Linked DNA regions of Homo sapiens: region 2 is linked to region 1. Evidence: promoter capture Hi-C in human tissues and cell types (Jung and others, 2019). All regions are on one chromosome and are shown on one strand. Each heading gives the region's core, a stretch centred on a gene start or on the middle of the fragment in contact. The rest is flanking DNA. Distances are from core to core; before and after follow the strand shown.

The links. Contacts are between HindIII fragments. The study calls those that stand out against the background at their distance.
Region 2: a fragment that was not itself captured here is called in contact with the fragment with the promoter of PGLS in region 1 in 1 of the 25 tissues and cell types used here (dorsolateral prefrontal cortex).

Annotation. Positions count from the first base shown.
Region 1 is chr19:17,509,652-17,514,324 of GRCh38, reverse strand. PGLS (6-phosphogluconolactonase) reads right to left here and starts at 2,676. Exons shown (of 5, transcript NM_012088.3): 1 at 2,365-2,676. The coding sequence starts at 2,652. PGLS-DT (PGLS divergent transcript) reads left to right here and starts at 2,436. Exons shown (of 3, transcript NR_147835.1): 1 at 2,436-2,982. RefSeq lists enhancers at 1,203-1,858, 1,689-1,948, 1,911-2,205, 2,699-2,948, 2,516-3,172 and 1 more and silencers at 1,911-2,205, 2,449-2,498, 2,509-2,638. The HindIII fragment of the contact is 13,558 bases long and covers 645-4,673 here.
Region 2 is chr19:18,184,776-18,189,357 of GRCh38, reverse strand. No RefSeq gene overlaps it. Among named protein-coding and RNA genes, the nearest start is that of MPV17L2, 6.2 kb to the left of the region's middle. The HindIII fragment of the contact is 5,661 bases long and covers 348-4,582 here.

The DNA.
Region 1 (4,673 bases), core at 1,427-3,926:
AAGATGAGAAGACACACAGAATCCAAGAAGGCCATGTGCAGACAGAGACAGGAATTGGAATGGTGTGACCCCAAGCCAAGGAACGCCCAGAGCCCCCAGAAGATGAGGAGAAAATGAAGGATCCTCCCAAAGAGCTTTCAGATGGGGCGTGACCCCACCAACACCTTGATTTCAGACTTCTGGCCTCCAGAACGGTGAGAGAATAAATTCCTGTGGCTTTAAGCCGCTCAGTTTGTGGTCATTCGTTATGTAGCCCTAGGGAACCGATATGATTCCCCTCACAGAGAACCGGCAGAAGGAGCAAGTCCTGGCTTCAGGTTTGCTCCCATCACACGGCTTTGGCCTTAGCTGAGCCCTCTTGCCACAGCTTGACCATGGCCAGCTCCTGCACATGCTCCAGCTCTCAGCTCAAATGGCACCTTCTCAGGACCTCCCACCCCATAGCCCTTGACGAATGCTCACTCCCTATTCCCTAGCACTCTGCAGCATTTCACAATTATTTATTTTGAGACAGAGTCTCAACTGTCGCCCAGGCTGGAGTGCAGTGGCATGATCTCAGCTCACTGCAACCTCTGCCTCCCACATTCAAGCGATTCTCGTGCTTCAGCCTCCCCTGTAGCCGGGATTACAGGCACACGCCACCACACCCAGCTAATTTTTGTATTTTTAGTAGAGATGGGGTCTTGCCATGTTGGCTAGGCTGGTCTCCAACACCTGACCTCAGGTGATCCACCATCCTTGGCCTCCCAAAGTGCTGAGATTACAGGTATGAGCCACCACGCCCGGCCAAAAACCTGCTTTTTTTTTTTTTTATCTTTAAGACAGTCTCACTCTGTCGCCCAGGGTGGAGTGTAATGGCATGATCTCGGTTCACTGATCATGCCTCACTCCTGCCTCAGCCTCCCGAGTAGCTGGGATTACAGGTGCGCACCACCACACCTGGCTAATTTTTGCATTTTTAGTAGAGACAGGTTTCACCATGTTGGTCAGGTTGGTCTCAAACTCCTGACCTCGTGATCCGCCCGCCTCAGCCTCCCAAAGTGCTGGGATTACAAGCGTGAGCCACCGCACCCAGCCAATTTTTGTATTTTTTTTTAGTAGAGACAGAGTTTTGCCATGTTGGCCAGGCTGGTCTCGAAATCCTGACCTCAGGTGATCTACTCACGTCGGCCTCCCAAAGTGCTGGGATTACACGCGTGAGCCACCGCACCCGGCCAAAACTTTTTAATGATGCTCTTGGAAAACACACACAGGAAGGCGGAAGTTAAATGTGTACCCAACTACGAAGTCAGATGAGGCAGGATCACACCCTGGCTGCCCCTCTGGTCACTAGATGCCTTGGGCAGGTAAGCTCACCTCTTCTGGCCTCAGTTTCTCCATCTGTGAAATGAGTGTAACATCTCATAGGCTGTGGTACGGACTCATGAATTGATGCATATAAAGCGTTCAGTAAGCCTTTTCTCTTAATAAAAAACCCACAAAACCATCATCAGCTCAAGATTCTATGCAAAGAGAAGACGGCACACCCAGCATGGGGTGTCCCTTGACGCTGCCAGACTCAAGTGACTTGAGGTTCCTGGCCTTTGAGCCCGCCCCTCCCACTCTTCCCTCGGCCAGGCCAAGGCTCCTCCAAGCCTCAGTTACCCTGTCTTTAAAAGAGCGCGCTCCTCTGATTCTATAGAATCCTGAGGCTCAAAGCCAAAGATGAACAGCCTGGAAGCAGAGCCATCAGAGCGGCAAAGCTGCCCAGGGATCCCCGAGAACTCGCTGGGGTTAGAGATCAGGACCCTGAGATTCAGGCTCTACACCTGATTCCTCGTGCCCCCGTCCGCTACGGGGCTGAGTTATGGGCATCGTTTGACATGGGCCACTCGGATTCCCTTCCAGGCCCTTGCCCGTGCCGTTCCCTCTGCCTGGCCACCGGATGAAGCAGGAAGACGGACTGCAAGTAGACCATTTCTAGCCCTGCCTAGATAAAGGCAGAGGGCGCAGTGAGGTCCTGCGGGACCCACTGTAGGCGGGGTTCAGGAGGCGGGCGAGCCCTGTCGGCTAGACCCCCAGCGGCCCCCGTAGTCGAGGTGCAGGCAGTGGGCGTGACCATCTCGGCATGACCCCCAGTGGCCCCCGTAGCCGAGGGCAACCGGTGGGCGCGGCCCTCTTGGCATGACCCCCAGCGACCCACGTAGCCGAGGTGCAGGCAGTGGGCACGGCCCTCTTGGCATGATACCCAGTGGCCCCCGTAGCCGAGGTGCAGACAGTGGGCGCGGCCCTTTCGGCATGGCCCCCGGCGGCCTCCGTAGCCGGGGTGTAGGCGGTGGCTGTGGCCCTCTCGGCGTGATCCCCGGCGGCCCCCGTAGCTCTCACCCGGTAGAGGCCGTACGTGCTCTCGGCGTGATCGAAGGGCACGAGGCGCTCGTCGCAGAAGCCCAGCGTCCAGCGCGCTAAGCTAGCTGGCCCGGCAGGGGCGACGGCGGCGGGTAGCTCGCGGGCTAGCATCGAGACGAGGCTCCCGCCCGACAGGCCGAGCGCGAAACGGGCGCGGGCCCCTGCCAGGCAGCATGCTGCGCGCTGGGCCACCAGCTGCGCTAGCGCCGCACCCAGCTCCTGGGAACTCGAGAACACCGAGATGAGGCCCGGGGCCGGCGCGGCCATGGCGAGGGCGGCGGCGGGGAGGAGGAAGCGCTCCCTACGGCCGTCGCTAGTACGCCTGCGCAAGGGCCGGCCCTGCCGCTTGGTTTCGAGTACTTTGGGTGATTGTCTTTGGCACATGCGCAGTGAGGCAAGTGAAGCACCGCGAAGGTCGGGCAGTCGGTCCGGCCCTACCCATTGAATCTTTGCCTGCTGTGCCTGAGTCGAAGTGAGTTCGGGAAGCCAGTGCCCGAATGCTCAACCTTGCTGTATCAGGGAGGGCCGGAGAGGGGAGCTCAAGAAGAGGACGTCCTATCGAGGTGGCAGGGATTTTCTGAAGGAGGGCGTATTTTGGTGAGTTTTAAAATTCCTGCACCGCCGGGCGCGGTGGCTGACGCCTGTAATCCCAACACTTTGGGAGGCCGAGGCGGGCGGATCACGAGGTCAGGAGATCGAGACCATCCTGGCTAACACGGTGAAACCCCGTCTCTACTGAAAACACAAAAAATTAACCGGGCGTAGTGGCGGGCGCCTGTAGTCCCAGCTACTCGGGAGGCTGAGGCAGGAGAATCGCTTGAACCGGGGTGGCGGAGGTTGCAGTGAGCCGAGATCGTGCCACTGCACCCCAGCTTGGGCGACAGAGCGAGGCTCCATCTCAAAAAAAAGTAGGGGATGAAAATATGCTTGTTGAATTTTTTTTTTTTTTTTTTTTACATTTTCCGGACGGACGGGCTCTTGCTATATGGTCTAGGCTGATCTTGAACCCCTGGGCTCAAGCGATCTTCCTGCCTCGGCCTCCCAAAGTGGTAGCATTCAGGCGAAAGCCACTGCGCCTGGCCATGCTTGTTGAATTTTTTAAGCTAACCCTCCTAGTGTGGTGGTGTGTCCCTCTGAGTGCCCAGAAAGGCCTCCAATCGAGTTCTTGCCTGGACAGAGGGCTGGAAGGGGAAGAAGGCCTGGTGGGCCTGGGGAGGCTGGGCCACTTCTGAGAGTGGGATATTTCAGTGATGTGTGTAAGCGCAGTTCAACTCACACAGGTAGTGGATTTTAAAATCAGTAGCAAATTAAGAAAACAATTCCATTTACCATAGCATCATAAAGTATAAAGTAGGCATAAATTTAATAAAAGAAGTACAAGACTGTACTTCTTGAGAGCTGTAGCTGGGCTTGGTGGCTCACAGCTGTAATCCCAGCACGTTGGGAAGCCAAGGCTGGACCCGGTGGCAGCTGCCTGTGGTCCCAGCTACTTGGGAGGCTGTGGTGGGAGGATCACTTGAGCCCAGGAGACTAAGGCTGCAGTGAGCTGTGTTCCTGCCATTCCACTCCAGCCTGGGCAATAGAGTGAGACCCTGTCTCGAAACAAGCAAAAGAACTAAAACTTTGGTGAAAAAAAAAATTAAAGATGATCTAAATAAATGGTAAGACATTCCACGTTCATGGATTGGAAAGTATAATATTGTTAAGATGGCAGTACTCCACAAATTGGTCTACGGATGCAATGTAATCCCTTTCAAATTTACAATGTTTTTGTTGAAATTGACAAATTGATCCTAAAATTAATAATAAATTGCAAATGGCCCCAAAATAGCCAAAACAATATTGAATAAAATACGAGGACTCATACTTTCTCATTTCAAACAATAAAAAGGTACAATAACCAAAACTGTGGTATTGGCATAAGGATAGACATATAAATAAATGATTGGAACTGATGCAGAAATAAACCTATGCATATATGGTCAACTCATCTTTGGCAACGGTGCCAGGACTATTCAAAAAGAAAGGAGGGCTGGGCGTGGTGGCTCACGCCTGTAATTCCAGCACTTTGAGAGGCCAAGGCAGGTGGATCACCTGAGGTCGGGAGTTTAAGATCAGCCTGACCAACATGGAGAAACCCTGTCTCTACTAAAAATACAAAGCCTTAGCTGGGCGTGGTGGCACATGCCTGTAATCTCAGCTACTCGGGAGTCGGAGGCAGGAGAATGGCTTGAACCCCGGAGGTGGAGGTTGTGGTGAGCTGAGATCACGCCATTGCACTCCAGCCT
Region 2 (4,582 bases), core at 1,929-4,428, 670 kb before region 1:
GTAACAAACCTGCACCTTCTGCACGTTCTGCACATGGATCCCAGAACTTAAAGTATAATAATAGTAAAAAAGAATTCAATGTAGATGTATGGATTTGGTTCTGGGTTCTCCATTCTGTTCCATTTATGTATGTGTCTATTTTTGTGCTGGTACTATGCTGTTTTTGTTACTGTAGATCTATAGTATAATTGAATGTTGGGTAATGGGATTCCTCCAGTTTTGTTCTGTTTGCTCAGGATAGTTTTGGCTATTCAAGGTCTTTTGTGATTTCATATAAATTTAGGACTGTTTTTTAGAACTGTTCTTTCTGTTTTGTGTGAAGAATGTCATTGGTATTGTATTTTGATGGAAATTGCATTGAATCTGTAGGTTGCTTTGTGTAGTATGGACATTTTGACAATATGGATTTTTCCAATCCATAACTACAGAATATCTTAAAAAATAATAATAATAATAAGGCCGGTGCGGTGGCTCACGCCTGTAATCCCAGCACTTTGGGAGGCCGAGGTGGGCGGATCATGAGGTCAGGAGATCGAGACCACAGTGAAACCCCGTCTCTACTAAAAATACAAAAAATTAGACGGGTGTGGTGGCGGGCGCCCGTAGTCCCAGTTACTCAGAGAGGCTGAGGCAGGAGAATGGCGTGAACCCGGGGAGGTGGAGGTTGCAGTGAGCCAAGATCGTGCCACTTGCACTCCAGCCTGGCGACAGAGCTAGACTCTATCTCAAAAAAAAAAAAAAAAAAAAAGAAAGAAAGAAAGAAAGAAAAAGAAAAACCTGATTAACTTCAGGTTACTTTTTTTGGTAAGTGTTAAAGCAGAGGGGACTTCCTTATCGGGCTAATTCAGGTAGACTAAAATCTTTTTTTTTTGAGACAGAGTCTCGCTCTGTCGCCCAGGCTGGAGTGCAGTGGCGCGATCTCGGCTCGCTGCAAGCTCCGCCTCCCGGGCTCACGCCATTCTCCTGCCTCAGCCTCCCCAGTAGCTGGGACCACAGGCACCAGCCACCACGCCTGGCTAATTTTTTGTATTTTTAGTAGAGAGGGGGTTTCACCATGTTAGCCAGGATGGTCTCGATCTCCTGACCTTGTGATCCGCCCACCTCGGCCTCCCAAAGTGCTGGGATTACAGGCATGAGCCACCGTGCCCGGCCCAGGTAGACTAAAATCTATTTTTAGGAAAGACAGCTGGGCACAGTGGACCATGCCTATAATACCAGCACCTTGGGAGGCTGAGGCAGGAGGATCGCTTGAGGCCAGGAGTTCAAGACCAGCCTGGGCAACTTGGCCAGAACCTCATCTCTACAAAACAAATTTAAAAAAAAAAAAAATAAGAAACTGATCTGTTTGGGATATGTCTGCTTCCTCAAAGTTTCAGTTTGATTATGTGGCATTTAGCACGAGTGACTCCATTCTGGTTTCATCTGGTCTGTTGGTGCCTAGTGCAGGAGCTCAGTCCAAAACAGTGGTCTCCCATAGTTTTGTTTGACATTGAGCTGACCATTTGGTAATCTACAAATGGATTACTGGTTGCTGAGAGACAATGGTGGATAAATTAAGAATTTATTGGCCAGGCACGGTGGCTCATGCCTGTAATCCGAGCACTTTGGGAGGCTGGGGCGGGTGGATCACTTGAGGTCAGGAGTTCAAGGCCAGTCAGGCCAACATGGCAAAACCCCATCTCTACTAAAAATACAAAAATTAGCTAGGTGTGGTGGTGCATGTCTGTAATCTGAGCTACTTGGAGGCTGAGGCAGGAGAATCGCTTGAACCTGGGAGGCGGAGTTTGCAGTGAGCTGAGATCATGCCATTGCACTCCAGCCTGGGCGACAGAGCGAGATTTTGTCTCAAAAAAAAAAAAAAAAATTGTTGCTTGGCCGGGCTCGGTGGCTTATGCCTGTAATCCTACCATTTGGGACCTGGATGCAGGAGGATCGCTTGAGGTCAGGAGTTGGAGTTGCCCAGATGCCTGGGCAACATGGTAAGACCAGGTAACATGGTAAGACCGGATAACAAAATTATCCGGGTACGGTAGTGCACACCTGTAGTCCCAGCTACTTGAGAGGCTGACGTGGGAGGATCGCTTGAGTCCCAGAGGCTGAGTCTTCAGCTGGCTGAGATGGTGACACTACACTCTGGCCTGGATGACACAGCGAGACCCTGCCTCAAAAAGTAAAATAAAAAATAAAATTAAGAGAATTTATGGGGCTGGGTGCGGTGGGTCATGGCTGTAATTCCATCACTTTGGGAGGCCGAGGCAGGCGGATCACCTGATGTCGGGAGTTCAAGACCAGCCTGGCCAACATAGTGAAACCCCGTCTCTACTAAAAATACAAAAATCAGCCAGGCATGATGGCGGGTGCCTGTAATCCCAGCTACATGGGAGGCTGAGGCGGGAGAATCACTTGAACCCGGGAGGCAAAGGTTGCAGTGAGCCGAGATCTTGTCATTGCACTCCAGCCTGGGCGACAGAGCCAGGCTCTGTCTCAAAAACAGAAAAACAAAAGATACTTTATTGCTTCCCAGGAAGAGCAGCTTTTGATACCTGGCAGTAATTTTTGTATGTTTCTGTTGATAGTGTTCAGGACATGTCACCCATAACATACCAGCATACAACTTTGGCATATTGATATTGAGAATTTTGAGTTAAACACACTTGCAAACAGTGGATGCAAGAAGGGCTCTTCTTTTTATTTTTTTGAGAGGGAGTCTCACTCTGTTGCCCAGTCTGGAGTGCAGTGGCATGATCTTGGCTCACTGCAACCTCCACCTCCCGGGTTCAAGTGATTCTCTTATCTCAGCCTTCCAAGTATCTGGGATTACAGGCATGTACCACCATGGCCGGCTAATTTTTGTATGTCTAGTAGAGACGGGGTTTTGCCATGTTGGTCTGGCTGGTCTTGATCCCCTGACCTCAGTTATCTGCCCATCTCAGCCTCCCAAAATTCTAGGATTACAGGCACGAACCACCGCAGCCAGCCCAGAAGGGCTCTGTGATCTATCTTTTTATTTTTTCTTTATTTTTGAGAAGGAGTCTCACTCTGTTGCCCAGGCTGGAGTGCAGTGGCGCGATCTCAGCTCACTGCAACCTCCGCCACCCAGGTTCAAGTGATTCTCCTGCCTCAGCCTCCCAAGTAGCTAGGATTATGGGCGCCCGCCACCACGCCTGGCTAATTTTTGTATTTTTACTAGAGACGGGTTTTATCATGTTGGCCAGGCTGGTCTTGAACTCCTGACCTCAGGTGATCCCCCAGCCTCTGCCTCACAAAGTACTGGGATTACAGGCATGAGCTACCGTGCCCGGCCAAAATTTTTAAAAAATTAGCCAGGTGTGGTGGTGTGCAACTCTAGTCCCAACTACTTGGGAGGCTGAGACAGGAGGATTGCTTGGGCCTGAGAGGTCAAGGCTTCAGTGAGCTGTGATCCCGCTACTGCACTCCAGTCTGGATGACACAGCAAGACCCTGTCTCAAAACAAACACTTAGGTCTAGTTACTTTTTTCGGTCTCCATTTTTCTCGTGAGGGCTCCCATCTACAATGAATAAGCTTTGTGTGCTATTGTTTTGTTAATCTGTCTGTCAGTCTGAGCCAGACACCAGAGAGAGGAGGAAAGCTCTAGCCCTGCTAGTTTCTGGTGATGAGGATGGGCTACAATTGGCTGGGAATATCTGCTCCCTCTGGGGTCTGCAGGGGAGAAATGCTGGGACCTGACAAGCCAATGCAAAGTAAGAATTCAGCCGGACGCGGTGGCTCATGCCTGTAATCCCAGCTTTTTGAGAGGCTGAGGTGGGTGGATTACTTGAGGTCAGGAGATCAAGACCAGTCTGGCCAACACGGTGAAACCCCATCTCTACCAAAAAATAGCAAAATTAGCTGAGTGTGGTGGTGTGTGCCTGTAGTCCCAGTTACTCGGGAGTCTGAGGCAGGAGAATCACTGAAACCTGGGAAGCTGGGGTTTCAGTGAGCTGAGATAGCACCACTGAATTCCAGCCTGGGCAACAGAGTGAGACTTTGTCTCAGAAAAAAAAAAAAAAAAAAAAAAAGGCTGGCACGGTGACTCACACCAGTAATCCCAGCACTTTGGGAGGCCGAGGTGGGTGGATCACCTGAGGTCAGGAGTTCAAGACCAGCCTGGCCAACATGGTGAAACCCCGTCTCTACTAAAAATACAAAAAAATTATCCAGGCGTAGTGGCAGGCACCTGTAATCCCAGCTAATCGGGAGGCTGAGGCAGAAGAACCGCTTGAACCCGGGAAATGGAGGTTGCAGTGAGCCGAGAAAGTACCACTGCACTCCAGCCTGGGCAACAGAGCCAGACTCCGTCTCAAAAAAAAAAAAGAAAAGGACGAATTCTTATCAGGCTGGGATTATGGCTCACACCTGTGATCCCAGCACTTTGGGAGGCTGAAGCAGGAGGATCACTTGAGCTCAGGAGTTTGAGACCAGCCTGGGGAACATAGCAAGACCCCATCTCCACAAAAATTTAAAAAATTAGCTCGGATAGGTGGTGCATGCCTGTAGTCCCAGCTACTCAGAAGTTTGAGGCAAAGGGGATTCTAGAGCCCAGGATTTGGAGACTGCAGT